Regions from separate parts of the Homo sapiens genome. Here regions 2, 3, 4, 5, 6 and 7 are each linked to region 1. The links are contacts of gene promoters, found by promoter capture Hi-C in blood cells and fetal thymus (Javierre and others, 2016). All regions are on one chromosome and are shown on one strand. Each heading gives the region's core, a stretch centred on a gene start or on the middle of the fragment in contact. The rest is flanking DNA. Distances are from core to core; before and after follow the strand shown. Region 1 holds the start of CPA4 (carboxypeptidase A4). Region 2 overlaps LOC105375508 (a long non-coding RNA gene). Region 3 overlaps LOC105375508 (a long non-coding RNA gene). Region 4 has its middle 9.2 kb from the start of KLF14. Region 5 has its middle 10 kb from the start of TSGA13. Region 6 overlaps TSGA13 (testis specific 13). Region 7 overlaps COPG2 (coat protein complex I subunit gamma 2).

The links. Contacts are between HindIII fragments. The CHiCAGO score rates a contact against its expected background, and 5 or more counts as called.
Region 2: a contact is called between a fragment that was not itself captured here and the fragment with the promoter of CPA4 in region 1, in 3 of 17 cell types (M1 macrophages, erythroblasts and M0 macrophages). The highest score is 7.3, in M1 macrophages.
Region 3: a contact is called between a fragment that was not itself captured here and the fragment with the promoter of CPA4 in region 1, in 2 of 17 cell types (endothelial precursors and M1 macrophages). The highest score is 6.4, in endothelial precursors.
Region 4: a contact is called between a fragment that was not itself captured here and the fragment with the promoter of CPA4 in region 1, in 3 of 17 cell types (endothelial precursors, M1 macrophages and M2 macrophages). The highest score is 6.2, in endothelial precursors.
Region 5: a contact is called between a fragment that was not itself captured here and the fragment with the promoter of CPA4 in region 1, in 4 of 17 cell types (M2 macrophages, endothelial precursors, M0 macrophages and 1 more). The highest score is 6.8, in M2 macrophages.
Region 6: a contact is called between a fragment that was not itself captured here and the fragment with the promoter of CPA4 in region 1, in 5 of 17 cell types (M1 macrophages, M2 macrophages, endothelial precursors and 2 more). The highest score is 8.9, in M1 macrophages.
Region 7: a fragment that was not itself captured here is called in contact with the fragment with the promoter of CPA4 in region 1 in 6 of 17 cell types (M2 macrophages, megakaryocytes, erythroblasts and 3 more); the score reaches 7.1 in M2 macrophages.

The regions. Positions count from the first base shown.
Region 1 is chr7:130,291,682-130,294,410 of GRCh38, reverse strand. CPA4 (carboxypeptidase A4) reads right to left here and starts at 1,250. Exons shown (of 11, transcript NM_016352.4): 1 at 1,163-1,250. The coding sequence starts at 1,230. RefSeq lists an enhancer at 756-845. The HindIII fragment of the contact is 9,413 bases long and covers 740-2,729 here.
Region 2 is chr7:130,764,869-130,767,597 of GRCh38, reverse strand. The region is part of intron 3 of LOC105375508 (a long non-coding RNA gene); the gene reads right to left. Among named protein-coding and RNA genes, the nearest start is that of KLF14, 32 kb to the right of the region's middle. The HindIII fragment of the contact is 4,409 bases long and covers 1-2,729 here.
Region 3 is chr7:130,745,436-130,748,164 of GRCh38, reverse strand. The region is part of intron 3 of LOC105375508 (a long non-coding RNA gene); the gene reads right to left. Among named protein-coding and RNA genes, the nearest start is that of KLF14, 13 kb to the right of the region's middle. The HindIII fragment of the contact is 1,699 bases long and covers 516-2,214 here.
Region 4 is chr7:130,723,634-130,726,362 of GRCh38, reverse strand. No RefSeq gene overlaps it. Among named protein-coding and RNA genes, the nearest start is that of KLF14, 9.2 kb to the left of the region's middle. The HindIII fragment of the contact is 4,675 bases long and covers 1-2,729 here.
Region 5 is chr7:130,695,205-130,697,933 of GRCh38, reverse strand. No RefSeq gene overlaps it. Among named protein-coding and RNA genes, the nearest start is that of TSGA13, 10 kb to the right of the region's middle. The HindIII fragment of the contact is 5,965 bases long and covers 1-2,729 here.
Region 6 is chr7:130,675,299-130,678,027 of GRCh38, reverse strand. All of the region lies in intron 5 of TSGA13 (testis specific 13), which reads left to right. Among named protein-coding and RNA genes, the nearest start is that of COPG2, 7.9 kb to the right of the region's middle. RefSeq lists an enhancer at 1,158-1,714. The HindIII fragment of the contact is 4,053 bases long and covers 1-2,729 here.
Region 7 is chr7:130,617,243-130,619,971 of GRCh38, reverse strand. The region is part of intron 5 of COPG2 (coat protein complex I subunit gamma 2); the gene reads left to right. Among named protein-coding and RNA genes, the nearest start is that of COPG2, 50 kb to the left of the region's middle. The HindIII fragment of the contact is 699 bases long and covers 1,066-1,764 here.

The DNA of each region.
Region 1 (2,729 bases), core at 1-2,500:
AGACACAGGTGTGAACAGAAGTCATCATCATAAAACTTAGTCAATCTCATATAAGTAATTACCTCAAAAAACAACCCCAAAGTCTCATTAGCCAGATAGTAAAATAGAAAGAAAACTAAGAGACAGATCCAAGAGATATAGGATTTTATTTGGAGATGAACTTGTGTTATAGCAAAAGGGTACGAGTTTTACGTTCAGAGTTCCAGCTCCCCTGCTTCCCAGCTAAGTGGCCTTGAGCGCGTTCCTTAACATTCTAAGGCTGATTTTTTTCATGTTTAAGTGGAAGAAAATAACACCCCTGCCTGGCAAAGTTGTTGTGTGATCAAAAAGATAATGTACATGAAAGCTCTTTGCAAATGGTAAAGTATTATGCAGTAATGAGTTATTATAATTCAGTCTTCTAACAGGGCACCATGGTATCCCTTTTATCTCTCCTACCACCCAAATGTCCTCTCCCCTGCAAACCTCAAAGTATTCTGCATGGAGCGTGTTGAGCACGTGTGTGTGTGCACACACACACGCGCACACACACACGGTGTTCAGGCATGTGTCTCTGCATGTCATTTTCATAGCTGTGTCTAGGCAAGACCTGTGAAATCTCCACGTCCCAGAAGCCAGTAAGAAAGCACCAGCTCAGAAGAGGGTGTAGCTCAGGGGTAGAGCATTAAACTGCAGATCAAGAGAAGGCACCAGCTCTGCAAAGCCTTCGCCATTAACAAAGAAGTGAAACCAACAAGCTTGAGACCCAGGGTTTCCCTTTATGCATGGCGGAAATTGGAAACAAACCATTTCTGGTAACCAGTAACTCTTAGTAATTAATAACGTAGCTCTTAGTAACCAGTAACTCTTAGTAATTAATAAGGTAGGAGTAAGAAAGTAGATGCCTGGAACTGACCTTATAAGTAAGAACTAGGCAGAAAAAGAACTGGCAGGAGATGAGGGAGCTGGGGAGAGACTGCAATGATCATCTAGTCCTGATTTCACAGATGAAATGGGGTCTCAGAGAAGAGAGTGGACTTGTCCAGGATGACACAGGGGCAAAGCTGGAACAAGAGCCCAGGTCTTCTTCCTCCATGTGAGCTATTATCAGCCATTCATTTTCAGTTCCATTTGGCTCCCATATTTCTGAAATAACCAAATAATAAGTCCAAAAGGAACTTACCCAAAAAATTTTTCTTGGCCACAGATGCTGGACCCAATAAGGGCCCCAATGAACAGTATCCACCTCATGTCCCCGGGGAGTCAGTCATACAGTGGCTGAGTCAAGCTGTATTTATAAAGAGTCTGAGAGTGACTCAAGTCCTCAAAAATGCTAATGTGATTCCCAAGCACCCTTGCAACTCTGACTGTGACAGGCAGGCCCTACCAATGCCTCTCCCATTCCTTTCAAGTGATAAAGGTTGAGCATCTCAATTTACAAGGTCAGGAACTTGCTCCAGGAGCTGAAAAAGTCTGTGCCAAGGGTACCATATTGCTCATCACTTGGCATTTAAATAGTGTTTTTTCAGTGAATAAGCTAATTCCACAGTGTTGGATGGAATTTATCCTGATAGGAGAGGTCAGATTATAAACCTGGCATAGAATTACCTCTAGAATAATAATAAAAAAGTTAAGACTATCAAAGCAAGACTGAGCTGGCTCCAAGACCACATGCTTGACAAGCCCTGCCAGAGAATTTCACCAGGGCAGGTCAGGATGAGGAAAGAGGTTTGGGGCCTCTTTTATGTATCTGAAGCCTAATTCTTCTGACTCCACTAAGGAAATAGAAATGTATCAGGCAAATGATATAGAAAGGATGTTTTAGTCTGAATAAATTATCAGTGTTCCTTGGGGTCTGATCTATGGGGAAGGCTTAATGGTTTTATCAATAATAAGATTTTCAGCCGGGCGAGGTGGCTCATGCCTGTAATCCTAGCACTTTGGGAGGCCGAGGTGGGCGGATCACGAGGTCAGGAGATTGAGACCATCCTGGCTATCACAGTGAAACCTCGTCTCTACTAAAAATACAAAAAATTAGCCGGGCGTGGTGGCGGACGCCTGTAGTCCCAGCTACTCAGGAGAATGGCGTGAACCTGGGAGGCGGAGCTTGCAGTGAGCCGAGATCGCACCACTGCACTCCAGCCTGGGCGACAGAGTGAGACTCCATCTCAAATAAATAAATAAATAAATAATAAGATTTTCTTATACTTCCTAGACTGTGGGTCTGGTGTCCTTTCCGCCAAGTCACAGCTGAATAAATGGAAGACACTCATATCTCCATAACGCCTTCAGGGGCTCTGGGACCTTTGAGTCTGTCCTGGGAGCCCCAGTTCCCACAGCCTTTCCCATCCCACCCTCCCTACGGTCTACATGCTTTCCACACCCACTCAAAGGGAGTGGACACAACCAAGGGTCATAGTTGAGAGAGTTAAAGAAAAACTATCCTGACCTGTGTTAAAATGTAAGACCTAATTCAAGATTATTATGATTAGGACCATGGCTATTTCAGTAGGAAAGACTTACTGTGCTTAACACTGAATACGGCAAAGAAAACAGAGAGGATCAGTGGGATTACTAAGAGAAGACATCAAGGTAGGGGGATTCTTGCTAAAAGCAGGCCAAGGACTTATACATCAAAGTCCCCATCAAAGGTGGGGATGAGGAACTTGATCAGATATCAAGGTGGGAGGGATGACTTCGCAGGATCTTTGCTCAGGCTGGCTTAGCCAGGGCTCAAGAACCAGCCTAAT
Region 2 (2,729 bases), core at 127-2,626, 470 kb before region 1:
TTTTGTTAGTAGAGACAGGGTTTCACTATGTTGCCCAGGCTGGTCTGGAACTCCTGACCTCAAGTTATCTGCTCACCTCAGCCTCCCAAAGTGCTGCGATTACAAGCATGAGCCAGTATGCCTGGCCTCACTTCACTTTTAAGGACATACATTGATTGAAAGTGAAAATATTGAGAAAGATAATCCATGAAAATGGAAACCAAAAGAGAACAGAGGTAACTAACCTCGTATCAGATAAAACAGACTTTAAGTTGACACTATAAAGTGAAACAAAGAAGGTCATTATATAATGATTACAAGGCCAATTAATCAAGAAGATATAATGATTGTAAATATATATGCACCCAACATTGGAGCACCTAAATAAATAAAGCTCACCTCTATGCAAATAAACTAGAAAATATAGAAGAAACGGATAAATAACAGGACACATACACCCTCCCAAGACTAAACCAGGAAGAAGCTGAATCTCTGAACAGACCAATAACAGGTTCTGAAATTGAGGCAATAATTACTAACCTACCAACCAAAAAAAGTCCAGGACCAGACAGATTCACAGCTGAATTCTACCAGAGGTACAAAGAGGAGATGCTTCCATTCCTTCTGAAACGATTCCAGTCAATAGAAAAAGAGGGAATCTCCCTAACTCATTTCATGAGGCCAGGATCATCCTGATACCAAAGCACGGCAGAGACACAACAAAAAAAGAGAACTTTAGGCCAATATCCCTTATGAATATCAACGCAAAAATCCTCAATAAAATACTGGTAAACTGAATCCAGCAGCACATCAAAATGCTTATCCACCACGATCAACTTGGCTTCATCCCTGGGATGCAAGGCTGGTTCAACATATGCAAATCAATAAATGTAATCCATCACATAAACAGAACCAATGACAAAAAACACGATTATCTCAATAGACGCAGAAAAGGCCTTTGCCAAAATTCAGCAGCCCTTCATGCTAAAAATTCTCAGACTAGGTATTGATGGAACATATCTCAAAATAATAGGAGTTATTTATGACAAACCCACAGCCAAATCATACTGAATGGGCAAAACCTGGAAGCACTCCCTTTGAAAACTGGCACAAGACAAGGATGCCTCTCTCACCACTCCTATTCAACATGGTGTTGGAAGTTCTGGCCAGGACAATCAGGCAAGAGAAAGAAATAAAGGGTATTCAATTAGGAAAATAGGAAATCAAATTGTCTGTTTGCAGATGACATGATTGTATACTTAGAAAACCCCATCGTCTCAGCCAAAATCTCCTTAAGATGATAAGCAACTTCAGCAAAGTCTCAGGATACAAAACCACTGTGCAAAAATCACAAACATTCCTATACACCAATAACAGAGAGCCAAATCATGAGTGAACTCGCATCCACAATTGCTACTAAGAGAATAAAATACCTTGGAATCCAACTTACAACGGGTGTGAAGGAACTCTTCAAGGATAACTACAAACCACTGCTCAAGGAAATAAAAGAGGACACAAACAAATAGATAAACATTCCACGCTCATGGAGAGGCAGAATCAGTATTGTGAAAATGGCCATACTGCCCAAAGTAATTTATAGATTCAATGCTATCCCCATCAAGCTACCACTGAATTTCTTCACAGAATTGAAAAAAAAACTACTTTAAACTTCATATGGAACCAAACAGGAGCCCACATAGCCAAGACAATATTGGGGAAGAAGAACAAAGCTCAAGGCATCACACTACCTGACTTCAAACTATACTACAAGGCCATAGTAACCAAAACAGCATGGTACTGGTACTAAAACAGATATATAGACCAACAGAACAGAACGGAGGCCTCAGAAACAATGCCACACAGCTACAACCATCTGATCTTTGACAAACCTGACACACACAAGCAATGGGGAAAAAGATTTCCTATTTAACAAATGGTGTTGGGAAAACTGGCTAGCCATATGCAGAAAACGGAAATGCCCTTACCCCTTCTACAAAAATCAACTCAAGATGGATCAAAGACTTAGACATAAGACCCAGGACCATAACAATCTTAGAAGAAAACCTGGGCAATACCATCAGGACATAGGCATGGGCAAAGACTTAACGTCCAAAACACCAAAAGCAATGGCAACAAAAGACAAAATTGACAAACAGGATCTAATTAAACTAAAGAGCTTCTGCATAGCAAAGGAACCTATCATCAGAGTGAACAGACAACCTACAGGATGGGAGAAAATTTGTGCAATCTATCCATCTGACAAAGGGCTAATATCCAGAATCTACAAAGAACTTAACCAAATTTACCAGGAAAAAACAACCCCATCAAAAAATGGGCAAAGGATATGAACAGATACTTATGAAAAGAAGACATTTATGCAGCCAACAGACATATGAAAAAATGCTCATCATCACTGGCCATTAGAGAAATGCAAATCAAAACCACAGTGAGAAACCATTTCACACCAGTTAGAATGGCAATCATTAAAAAGTCAGGAAACAACAGGTGCTGGAGAGGATGTGGAGAAATAGGAACGCTTTTACACTGTCGGTGGGAGTGTAAATTAGTTCAACCATTGTGGAAAACAGTGTGGCGAGTCCTCAAGGATCTAGAACTAGAAATACCATTTGACCCAGCAATCCCATTACTGGGCATATACCCAAAGGATTATAAATCATTCTACGATAAAGACACAGGCACACATGTTTACTGCAGCACTATTCACAATAGCAAAGACTTGGAACCAACCC
Region 3 (2,729 bases), core at 116-2,615, 450 kb before region 1:
TTTTTTTTAATTTTTGTTTTGAGACGGAGTCTTGCTCTGCCGCCCAGGCTGGAGTGCAGTGGCACAATCTTGGCTCACTGCAAGCTCCACCTCCCGGGTTCACACCATTCTCCTGCCTCAGCCTCCTGAGTAGCTGGGACTACAGGCACCCGCCACCACGCCCGGCTAATTTTTTTGTATTTTTAGTAGAGACGGGGTTTCACTGTGTTAGCTAGGATGGTTTCAATCTCCTGACCTCGTGATCCACCCGCCTCGGCCTCTCAAAGTCCTGGGATTACAGGCGTAAGCCACCATGCCCGGCTGTGGGAGTGATTTTTATTTTCCCCAAAATGATTAAGTAACTGTTGAACACTCTTTAATAAATTGTCTATCATTTCCCCCACTCTTTTGAAATGTCACCTTTATCATATACTGAACTCTCACATATAAATGGCTGTTTCTAAATCACCTCTTTCTTCCATCAATTTACTGGTCTATTTCTATGACAATACCACACTGAATCAATTACTAAAGCTTTATGATATGCTTTAATACCTGCTAGAAAAATGTTACTCCTCCTATTTTTTTCTCATCCGGATGAATTATTTTGCCAAATTTTATACAGAAACCTGCTGCTATGTTGAATGAAACAGTCTTAAATTTATAAATGTTTTGTAATAATTGTCTTTTATAGCATTGAGTTTTTCTGTTAAGAAACAGTGTGTTTCTCCATGTATTCAGATCTTTATATGAGAACTTTAATTCAGCTGTATACTTTTCTTCACCAAGATCTTTATAGAGTCACCCTACCAAAATCTTACTAGCTCTCAAGTTTTTCTGACATTTTCCTTGGATTTTTCTAGGTACATGGAAATGTGCATCTGCAAAAAGTTACAGTTTTGTATATTACTTTCCAATATGTATTCACCTTCTTTCTTGGCTTTTTCCCCATTGTTGTACTGAATGGGATGTCTACTTTAATGCTAAGTGGTACTAGTAAAGGCTACCCTTGTATTGTTCCTAATTTTAATGGGAATGTTTCAAGTATTTCATGGTTAAGCATTATGTTTGTTGTAGATTTCCACTGGAAACCCCTTTTCAAATATAAGATGCTTTCTTCTATGACTTCTTTACTAAGATCATTTTTTAAAACGAGGAATGTGTGCTAGATCTTATCAACTGCTTTTTGGGGTGCCTATTATATATTTTCTCTTCAGAGAATACAATGAATTCTATTAATACACTTTCACCATCCAAATACCCTTCTTCTCCTGGAAAAAACTCAACTTGGGCATGATGCACTATTTTTAAAATACACTTCTAGATTTAGAAATTTTGTACTATGTTTGTGAGAATTAGTCTCTTTTTTTTGGATCCTATCTTTATCTGATTTCAGAACTAGGGTATTAAAAAAAAACCTCTTACGAATTGAAAAATTGTTCAATCTGTTTTATGGACTATGACCACTATATAACATGGGAAATACCTGTTTTTAGCTTTGGTAGCTCCAGTTGGCGAAACTACTTGGATCTGGTGTTTTGTTTTGTTTTAAGTATACCTTTAATTATTTTTCCATTTATTTTTATGTAATGGTCCATGGAGCTTTGCTCCTTACTGAACCAACTTTGGTAATTTGTGCATTTATGGATCAAACATTTTATCTTGATTTTAATTATATTTATTTAAAGTTGTACATAGTAATATTTGGCTTTTTCCACATTTCTTGATCCTTATATTAAGCATATCTTCTTTTTTTTCTTAATCTGATTCACCAAGCATTCATCTATTTTATTGGTCTTGCCAAATAAATAGAAAATGGTTTTATTAATGAAGCCCACTTGGGGTTTTTAAAATTTCATTTATTTCTACTATTCTTATTTTGTTTTTTTGAGATGGAATTTCGCACTTGTTGCCCAGGCTGGAGTGCAATGACATGGTCTTGGCTCACTGCAATCTCTGCCTCCCAGGTTTAAGCGATTCTCCTGCCTCAGCCTCCCTAGCAGGGATTACAGGCGCCTGCCACCACACCTCGCTAATTTTTGTATTTTTAGTAGAGACAGGGTTTCACCATGTTGGCCAAGCTGGTCTCAAACTCCTGACCTCAGGTGATCCTCCTCCCTCAGCCTCCCAAAGTGCTGGGATTACAGGCATGAGCCACCATGCCCGGCCAATTTATTTCTACTTTTATTTCTTTGGGCTTATTTTTCCTGTTCTTTAACTCTTGAGTCATAAGCTTAGCTTGTTTATTTTCACAATTTCTGTTTTCTACAAGCACTCAAGGCTGCAAATCTTTCCATTTGTACCACTTTGGCAGTACGCACAAATCTTGGAATGTAGTGTGCTCATTTGTTCATTTCTAAGTAGTTTGTAATTTCAATTTTAATTCTTTTGTAATCCAAGTTAATTAGAAGTGTGCCTTCTCATTTTCAAGAGGATAGTGCTTTTTCTGTTTGTTGTTTTTTACTGTCTTCTTGTTGTTAAATAATAATTTTATGCATGTGGTCACTGTGTAGGTTGTATAATTTCTACTTTATAGAATCTATTGAAATTTTCTTTGTAAATATTCCACGTACATTTAAACTGAGTATATAAAGTTTCTCATAATGTTATTAGAATCTTCTTTATCCTTATTTTTTTTCTACTTGAAATGTTAATTTGGTTTGCTTTGTTAACATTTTCATAATACATCTGCTTTTGTTGTTCAATTTTAAATTCCTGGGTCATTTGTTTTAGATAAACAGCATATAGCT
Region 4 (2,729 bases), core at 125-2,624, 430 kb before region 1:
TACCAAAACAAGGCAAGTTAAAAGACAAGAAAAAAAAATACGCCAATTTTATCTATAAAGACAGGTCCACAAATCCTAAGTAAAATTCAGCAATGCATGACAAGAATAATGCAAGATAATCGTGTGAAGTTTATCTGAGGAATGCAAGATTAATTCAACAATATCTATAAACATAATTCACTACATTAATTTAATAAAGAAGAAAATCAATTACTTTTTTATGTGCCAGTAATCATCAATCAGAAAATGTAATAGACTAAGTGATTCCATATTTGGTAGCAACAAATAATATAAAGAACATCTATGAAGAAGACTATAAAACTTTTACTGAATGACATAAAAGAAAATAGGACTTTTGAGACCAGCCTGACCAAATTGGAGAAACCCCATCTCTACTGAAAATACAAAATTAGCCAGGTGTGGTGGTGCACGCCTGTAATCCCAGCTACTCAGGAGGCTGAGGCAGGAGAATCGCTTGAACCCAGGAGGCGAAGGTTGTGGTGAGCTGAGATCACGCCATTGCACTCCAGCCTGGGCAACAAGAGCGAAACTCCGTCAAAAAAAGAGAGAGAGAGAGAAAGAGGGAGGAAGGGAGGGAGGGGGGGAGAGAGAGAGAAAGAGAAAGAAAGAAAAAAAGAAAAGGAAAGAAAAGAAAAGAGGACTAAGTGGATAAAAATAATGTCTGTGGATGGTAAAATTCAATACTATAAAAATGTCAGTTCTGTCCTCAAATTAATCTGTATAGGTAATGCAGTTCCATTCAAAACCCCACAATGATTTTTCATCGAGCTTTTTAAAGGAAATATTACAGAAGAACATAAGGGAAAGGAAGGGAAAATTGCTTTACCAGATATCAAAATATGACAAAGTTACAGTAATTAAGGCAGTGTGGTATAATGTAGGAATAGACAGGAGATAAGTGGAATTGGATAAAGAGTTCAGAAATAAACCTGTAAATACAGTCCAGTGGACAAGAGAGTTGGCATTCATGTAATCAGGGAAAAGATAGGCTACTTGATACATGCTATTGAGACAATTGCCTCTTCATGAAGAAAACAAAACAATACACAGCATTACTTTCTCAAACCTTTCATAATAATAAATTACAGATGGTAAAGACCTAAACATGTTTAAGCTATAAAAAAATTGGTAAAAAATGCTGGAAAATCCCTCTATCATCATTAAATAAGGAAGATCATCTTGTTTAGGACACAAAAAATTTAAAAATAAAAATTGAAGGAAAAAGATTTGACTGCATCAAAACTTTTAAATGTTTTACTTTTAAAAGCCTAAACACAATTAAATATCAAGCTACATTCTGAGAAAAATATCAGGCATAAGATCAATGTCTGGAATATATAAAGGATCAAAAATTCAAGAGACAAGAACCAAAAAAGTTGTCAAAGTATAGTAATAGGCAATTAAAGAGAAGACAAGGATTGAAAGTGTTGGTTAGGGGCTCTCTAGCCTTATATATAATGCTTTTATTCTTTCTTTTATTACTTTTTTTGGTAGAAATGAGGGCGGGGTCTTGCTTTGTTGCCTAGGCTGGTCTCGAACTCTTGGCTTCAAGCGATTCTCCTGCCTCAGCCTTCGGAAGTGGTGAATTACAGGCATTAGCCTCTGCGCCCAGCCTACTTTGACTTTTTTTAAAAAGCAGAATACCTTCATGTATTGCTTGTATAAGTTAACAAGATTGACCTTTTAAAGTATTTTAAAGGCCAGAAACAAAATAATGTTGGTTAAAAAAGCAAAAGCAGGCCAGGTGCAATGACTCACACTTACAGTCCCAGCAATTTGGGAGGCCAAGGTGAGAGAATCGCTTGAGACAAAAGCTCAAGACCAGCCTGGGTAACATAGCAAGCCCTTGTCTCTACAAAAAAAAAAAAAAAAAATTAGCTGGACATGGTGGTGCATGCCTATAGTCCCAGCTATGCAGGAGGCTGAGGTGAGAGGATTGCTTGAGCCCAGGAGGTTGAGGCTGCAGTGAGATGTGATTACATCACTGTATTCCACCCTGGGCAGCAGAGTGAGATCCTGTCAAAAAAAAAAAAGAAAGAAAGAAAAAAGAAAATCCTAGGTTTGGAAATGATATACCAAACAAATGTTAAGTGTTAATAAAAGCAAGAAGGTGTGACAAAATTAATATCAGAGTCAAAATACAATTCCAAGCCCAAAACTTGAGTGCAGCAAAGGTAGATAATTTTATATTGAGAAAAATCATAGTACACCAAGAATCCAAATCGATAAGAACCTTTGTGCCCGTGTATAGGAGTGTCAGCTCAGGCCCTCTCATGCCTATTCTAGGACCTGGACAGGGAGTTTCTTTTGCCCCTCATCCCTCACTAGGAATTCAGAGACTCACTCCCATTTTCTTAAGCTCATTGGAGGGATAGAGTTAGGGGAGTGTCAACACAAACCACACAGGAAATGAGCCCAATCTGAATTCTCAAAGGAAAATCTCACACACTCCACTCCGGAATACTCTTTGTCTCTTATTTTTCCGCAATAGCTCTTGATAATCCAGAGCTTGACCCAGAATCCTAGTTCACCTGTCAAAATATTCTAGTTTAGTAAAGGGCAAGAAAAGCAAAATGGTCAAAACATACAAACATTTACGATTCAACTTGAAAGAAAAAAATGTAGCATTTTTTATTATCTATTGCTGCTTGTGTCTTATTAGGAAGCTCCCACTCCTGTTAATGACAGGTGAAAAATTTAAACTTGTC
Region 5 (2,729 bases), core at 123-2,622, 400 kb before region 1:
TTTGGAACGTAAATCAAATGATTACTTGCACATCTTTAAAAGGCACGTTTTTAAAGTGGTATTGAGTTTTAAGGCCATGAACATAAACTCTTCTTAGACAAATAGTGGATGAAAAATATTGTATTGAGAAATATATGTCTATAAAATTCATATTGTTTTTTGAGATGGAGTCTCACTATGTCACCCAGGATGGAGTGTAGTGGCGTGATCTTGGCTCACTGCAACCTCCACTTCCCAGGTTCGACCAATTCTCCTGCCTCACCCTCCCAAGTAGCTGGGACTACAGGCGCGCACCACCATGCCTGGCCAATTTTTTTATTTTTGTTTTTATTTTTTTAGTAGAGACAGGGTTTCACCATGTTGGCCAGGCTGGTCTTGAACTCCTGGCCTTAAGTAGTCCACCCACCTTGGCCTCCTAAAGTGCTGGGAATACAGGCATAAGCCACCATGCCCAGCCTATAAAATTAGTATCTAAAAGCAAGAAAGGCTGGGCGCGGTGGCTCATGCCTGTAATCCCAGCACTTTGGGAGGCCCAGGCAGTGGATCATGAGATCAGGAGTTTGAGACCAGCCTGGCCAATGTAGTGAAACTCCGACTCTACAAAAATACAAAAAAACTAGCTGGGCCTGGTGGCGGGCGCCTGTAATCCCAGCTACTCAGGAGACTGAGTCAAGACAATCGCTTGAACCTGGGAGGCGGAGATTGCAGTGAGATCGTGCCGCTGCACTCCAGCCTGGGAAACGGTGCAAGACTCTGTCAAAAAAAAAAAAAAAAAAAAGGCAAGAAAACATTCACAATACTAACAAGCAAGAAAGCAAGACTTTCTGTGGGATATATTTGCACATTCTTTTAGGAACTGCCTTTACAATTTCAAAATGCAATTTTTTTTTTTTTTGAGATGGAGTCTCGCTCTTGTTGCCCAGGCTGGTGTGCAATGGTGCCATCTCGGCTCACTGCAATCTCCGCCTCCCAGGTTCAAGCAATTTTCCTGCGTCAGCCTCCCGAGTAGCTGAGATCACAGGTGTACACCACCACACCCAGCTAATTTTTGTATTTTTAGTAGAGACAGGGTTTCTCCATGTTGACCAGGCTAGTCTCGAACTCCTGATCTCAAGTGATCCACCCACCTCGGCCTCCCAAAGTGCTGGGATTACAGGCGTGAGCCACCACACCCGGCCCAAAATGCAATTTTTATAAAGTTAATTTCAGGTGAAAATGGGAGACCTGGGTCAGAGTTTGCCTATAATGCCCTACACCTATTCTGTTGTGTTTCTGTCTGGCCCATGTTGGTGTATTGCATTTCCTTAGAGACCTAGCCTTGTACATTACCTGAATGTGCCCCTCGTGGCATGTGCTAGTCATGCTTTCCCGCCTACAAAAACCACATCACCTTGAAACCCACAAGAGAATACCTAGGGCTGGGCTCAGTGGCTCACACCTGTAATCCCAGCACTTTGGGAGGCCGAGGTGGGTGGATCACGAGGTCAGGATATCGAGGCCATCCTAGCCAACATGGTGAAACCTCGTCTCTACTAAAAATACAAAAATTAGTCAGGCGGGTGGCATGCACCTGTAGTCCCAGCTACTCAGGAGGCTGAGGCAGGAGAATCACTTGAACCCAAGAGACGGAGGTTGAGGTGAGCCGAGATTGCACCACTGCACTCCAGCCTGGGTGACAGAGTGAGGCTCCATCTCAAAAAAAAAAAGAAAAAGAAAGAAAGAAAAAGAAAAAGAAAAAATAATACCTAAAGTACTCCCCAGTCATGTTTCTGGCCTTCTTTTCTTAAACCTAAGTTTTCTGTAACCATCTTGGGGAGTTGTCCCTATCATCAAAGGAATGTCCCCCAATTGTTCTTGTTAAGGACTTTCTATCTGTCACCATCAGAGGGCGACTTTCAATAATTTCCTGGATCTAGGCTCCCTCTTGGGGTATAATTCCAAATTGCTCCCTAATATCATTTCATTCCTCTTCCATTAAATCTCTTGGGACCCAGGCATTTTCCCAGGTCCTCTATCATTAAAAACATGTCCGCAACCCATTTCTAGCCTCATCCCCAAATGTAGAGGCAGTTAGGTCCAGATTTAAATTAAAGGGACACCCATCTTTTTCTCTTCTATGACTAGTTTTAACGTTTCTGATCTCATGTCTTCCCCAATTATCATTCTCTCTTCATTCATCTGATGATATATCCCCAGTCTGCTTTCTGTCATCTCTAAAGCTATCCTTCTCAAGTCATCGTTTTCTGTTCATCTGAAAGATAGGTTGGCCTTGACTGCTGATCAAAGCCCTTCCACTGTTTCTGGGCAAGCCTGACTCCATAAGCAAAGGCACAGCAGATGCAGGCTCCCTGAAGTGATTTTTCTATCTTTGGGATGGGACTGTTTTTTTTGTTTTGTTTTGTTTCGAGAAGAATCCTCTTTCTCTTCAACTAGCCTTTGTTACATTGCTATCGTGGTAACAAGTGTGATTGGGTCATCAATAATGGACATGTCAGGGCCACGTTGAAAGCACAGAGCGGAGGGTGAGTAGGTAGGGAAATGCCTCATAGAGGCTGTGGATACACCATATAAATGATATTGATTCAATCTGATTTTTCCTTGGATCTAGTATGTCTTCTTTCAGAACAGGATAACAAGTAAGAAAATTTGGGATGGCTATCAAGTACCACCAACAATGACCAGAACTGATAAATCAAAACCAAAAATCTCACATAGTGTACATGGAACCT
Region 6 (2,729 bases), core at 145-2,644, 380 kb before region 1:
TGCTGAGGATACAGTAAGCTAAAAACCAGAATATAAAGATGATTACAGGACAGTTTCTGTCTTAAAGGAACTTGGAATCTAATAGGAGAAAGATCAATAAATGAGGTATGTTAAAGTAATAGAAGAATATACAAAATACAGAAGTAATGTAGAATACAGTATTTCTGTTGGGAAAAAGGGAGTGAGTAGGGAAGTGACCCATGACAAAAGAACAGGAAAATATCAAATCAGAGGAAAGAGCAAAAGCATGAAGACATGGGAAAATGAGGTGCATTCAGGAAGATGTAAGAGAGTAAATGGCAGGGCCAGGCGCAGTGGCTCACGCCTGTAATCCCAGCACTTTGGGAGGCTGAGGCGGGCAGATCACTTGAGATAAGGAGTTTGACACCAGCTTGGCCAACATGGTGAAACCCCATCTCTCCTAAAAATACAAAAATTAGCCATGCGTGGTGCTGCATGCCTGTAGTCCCAGCTACTCAGGAGGCTGAGGGAGGAGAATCGCTTGAACCTGGGAGGTGGAGGTTGCAGTGAGCCAAGATAGCGCTACTGCATTCCAGCATGGGCGACAGGGCGAGACTCTATCTCAAAAAAAAAAAGAAAAAGCAAATAGAGTAAATGGCAGGAGACAAAAGGATGTAATCAAATTTGCATTTTAGGAAGACTGTTTTGGAGGTTGAAGAAAGGTGCATTAGTAGTTGTGGAAGAGACAAAACCCAGAAAGATGAGTTATAATGTTACTAAAATAGTCAAGGTGAGAGATACTGAAGACCTGAACTAAATCATTAGCAGAGGAAGTAGAGAAAATTTAATTATGAGATATTTAAGAATCAAAATCTGGCCGGGAGCAGTGGCTCACGCCTGTAATCCCAGCACTTTGGGAGGCCAAGGCAGGTGGATCACGAGGTCAGGAGATTGAGACCATCCTGGCTAACCCAGTGAAACCCCGTCTCTACTAAAAATACAAAAAATTAGCCGGGCGTGGTAGCGGGCGCCTGTACTCCCAGCTACTCCGGAGGCTGAGGCAGGAAAATGGAGTGAACGTGGGAGGCGGAGCTCGCAGTGAGCCGAGATCGCACCACTGCACTCCAGCCTGGGCGACAGAGGGAGACTCAGTCTCAAAAAAAAAAAAAAGAATCAAAATCTAAAAAAGGTCATGATAGCCTCAAGAGCGGGTCTAATCTAACAAGAACAAATTAAATAAATGAGTTAAGTGAAAGTGCAAACAAAGGATTCTAGTAGAAATTTTATGCTGGGCATGGGATTACCCAAGTGAGACCCTTATAATAAAATGTGGTGAATTTGGAGTTAGTGTTTCCATAGTTCCTAGATGGATGACAGTGAGAGATTCTCCTTCAAGTGGAAGATAAAATGCTAATATCCAATGGCATGTACTAACAAAGGAGTTAATGAATTTACCGCATGTGGTCTCTTGGGTCTCAGAATTTGTGCCCTTTGAAGGTAAGCTCACTGGTAGTTTCTCATGGCAGTGGGTGGACCATACATTGAGAAAGGGATAAATGCCAGGCCAGGATTGCCCTGCTTAATGCGCAGAAGGAAATACAAAGCTATCATGTAAACTGGGTGTGGGAAGAGCTTTCTTCCAACAGCCTGCACACTTTGTGAACCCTCCAGTTCAGGTGCAGAATCTAATCATATTGATGAGCAAATTGTGGTACCAGTTAAATTGTACTAATGGATAAAGTTAAGGCTCAAAGACTGGCACCATGGTAATTTTATGGGGCTATCAGACTGGAACAAGCCCAAGAAGATTGAAACGTGTGATATCTACAATGCCTCTTTAATATTCATGCAGCATCCTTTCCTTCCCTTGCTGGACAAATGTGATAATCTTTTGTAAACCTAGAATCATTTACAAGAAAAGCATTCTTTGTTATGCCCAGGCATGCATCCAAAAAGACTGTGAGTTCTAGTAGGCAAGTTATGGAATGTACTAGATATATCTATTACAGTGATTGTCATACTAACAGCCCCTTCTAAGTGAAACTGACCCTACCACAGTCTCCTGAGTAAGGGAATATCCTGAGAAGTTCTATTTTGTACAACAGGACCGTGTCCCCACTCCTAGTTGAGACCAGAGGAGGATATCAGACCCAACAAAGCAAAATTCATAGGCTGGGTAGTGACCTGTGATGTGGATTGGTACCCTAAAACCAAAACAAACAAAAAACAAATCAAAACAAAAACCAACCAACCTACCAACATCCAGAATCCCTGAGCTAATCAGATTCTTGTTTCCAGGTCTCTGAATTGAGAAATGAAAAGATTGAAGCAGTAGGAATGAAAGCTAAAAGGACACATAAGAGTAAGGCTAGAAGACTCAAACCGGCCTGGCGCAGTGGCTCACGCCTGTAAGCCCAGCACTTTGGGAGGCCGAGGCAGGCAGATCACGAGGTCAGGAGATTGAGACCATCCTGGCTAACGTGGTGAAACCCTGTCTCTACTAAAAATACAAAAAATTAGCCAGGCGTGGTGGCACATGCCTGTAGTCCTAGCTACTCCGGAGGCTAACACAGGAGAATTGCTTGAACTTGGGAGGTGGAGGTTGCAGTGAGTGGAGACTGTGCCACTGCAGTCCAGCCCAGGCAACAGAGTGAGATTCCATCCCCTCCCCACCCCACCCCCCCCAAAAAAAGACTCAAACCATGAGGAAGAAAGGTAGTGAAGAGGCCATGAAGTCGAGTATGGGAAGGCTGAAGTTATAGGGAAGT
Region 7 (2,729 bases), core at 166-2,665, 330 kb before region 1:
GTAATTTTTAAGACTTCTGGCAGAAAAAGCTAGTCATTTAAAAGTGAGAAAAACTAAGTCCGACTTCAGCCATTCATGGCAGTTTTCAGTGTCAGAAAAGAATGGGGACAGTATCTGCAAAGTTTTAAGAAACAGAACATGTGATACAAGAATAATACAGCTAAGCGAATTGTCATTCAAGTACAGGGACAACAAGCAGACTTCCACACTGGAAAGAATTCAGGGACCATAACACCTGTGAGCTTTTCTTGAAAAATAAAATTAAGCATTGAAGTTATATTAAATCAAAAGAGTGAATTCTGTAATAGAGGGGCTACAGGAAATGAATTACCAGTGAGCATTGAATGTATTCAATTATAGAAGTAGGGTTAAACTACTGTAGAAATTATGATTAAAGATAGAATGTAAATGTTATAATCCATGATAATACAAAAAGAATAATACTAACAAAAATTTGGAGATACACGGGAGGGCAGATGAGAGAGGAGAAAGCTTACGTGCATTAATTTTTTTGCTTTCATAGCTTAACTCTTTTATCTAAAGTTTTATGGCAGCGACAAAAAGAACTAGAATGTAAATCTCCCATATTTCAGAGAGAAAACACATTCACTTAGGAAAACAAAAGACACTCTTACATCTGTATTGTCCAATAAGATAGCCATTAGATACATATGGCTATTATAGTGAACATTAATTGAACTTTTGTAAAATTGAAAATTCAGTTCATTAGTCACACTAGCTATATTTCAAGTGCTCATTAGACACATTTAGCTTGTGGCTACTATGCTGAATGATGGAACATTTTCCATCATTGAAAAAAGTTCTGTTGGATAACACTGCCTTATAGGAAACAAAGAAAGTACTAAAAATAGAGATGTAACACAAAACAAATTCATAGAATTAACACCAGACATTGCCTATTAAAAGAAATACAGATTAGTTTAAAAATAAAATACAGCTAACTATATGCTACATATTGTGATGTATATAAAACAAGGCAAAGCAAAATTTGAATATAAAAGGAGGGGTGAAAGCATATAAGGCAAACACTACTGAAAGGAAGCTTGGGTGAAGGTATTAATAATTAGAAAATTGAATTAAATGCAAAAAGTTTTGAAGGAGACAAGAATGAGGTACTTTATCCAAAATGAGGAGGAACTGTCATGAATTATTTATTAATGTAACACCAAAGTACATAAGCCAAAAATCACAAAAAATGTAAATAGAAACAAAATAGTATCAGCCTTTGTTTTAAAAAGAAGGAAAAACCTAAGGGTAAAAAAGATATGAATAATATACTTGATACAGATTGATTAATACTTATGAAAACCTTACCTTTATAATAGAAAAGTCACCTTTATAAGTATTCATGGAACACTTACAAATTATTCAGCATTCAGCCCCTGAAAACCTGTTAATTCTAGAATGTGGAAATATAGTAGAGACTTATTCTGTCATTACAATGCAATCAAATGATACATTTATTTTGAGAAGAAAATGAACAGATAGTACCCAGATATGTCAAAATGGAAAAATAAAAAGAAAACCTCAACTTTTGGGACAGTATATAAGTAAAAATTGAAATTACAGAATATTTTTAAAATCTAATGATGAAAACCTATGAGTTCAACTAAAGCTATGGTCAGAGGAAAATTCATAGTCCTTGGCACTTAAATTACTGAACGAGTGTATTGTTCAGGGCTCCCCATTGCTGGCAGTAGAATCTAGTTCATAGATCCTCTTGGAAATCCGGAAAACCAAGCTTGCATCTGACAGAGCCAGAAAGAGTGCATCAGGGAAAAATGCCCACGCTACAAAATTTTTTAAGTGCAGGACACTTCCAAAAAAAGTCTTTTTTTTTTTTTTTTTTTGAGACAGGGTCTCACTCTGTCACCCAGGTTGGAGTACAGTGGTGCCATCTCAGCTCACTGCAACCTCTGCCTCCTGGGTTCAAGCAGTCCTCCCACCTCAACCTCCCAAGTAGCTGAGACTACAGGCACACCCCACAACACCAGTCTAATTTTTGTATTATCTGTAGAGATGGGGTTTAGTCATGTTTCCCAGGCTGGTCTTGCACTCCTGAGCTCAAGTAATCCTCCCACCTTGACCTCCCAAAGTGCTGGGATTACAGACATGAGCCACCACACCTGGCCAAATTGCTTTCCTAATTGAAAAAGAAATGAAGGACTATCAGTCAAAACTTCTTCCTCTTGGTTTCCTAATGGAGGGAGTCAGAGTTGTAGACCATTTTGGATTATGTGAGAGGAGTTGAGGAAGTGGAGAGATTGATAGCAGTAGTATAAATGCATGGGGAGCTAAAGAAGGGAGGGTAAAAGGTTAAAAACCTCTTTAAAGCATGGACATGGAATTTTGTAGCTAGTTCACACCTCTGCCTGTTTTTGAAGCTCAGCAGAAAGGTCTGAAGCCATTGATAATTTTAGAAAGCCATGCCAAAGAGAGATACCTCTTGAGTTAATTATTTTTGTTAATTTATTTTTAAAAGTTATGTCTAGTCTGATGGGATTTTAGGATTTGGGGGTATGTCAGACTAGGACGCTTTATACCATTGTCCTTAGTTTATCTTTTATGCTAATTATCAGTATCTAAAATTATGGGGAAGGGGTTGTTTTGTTTACGTGATTATCTTTCTTCCTCCCAGAATGATAAGTTCCATGAAGGCAAAGGACTTTTTGCTTTTTACTAATTTTGCTCATTGCTTTATTCTTGAA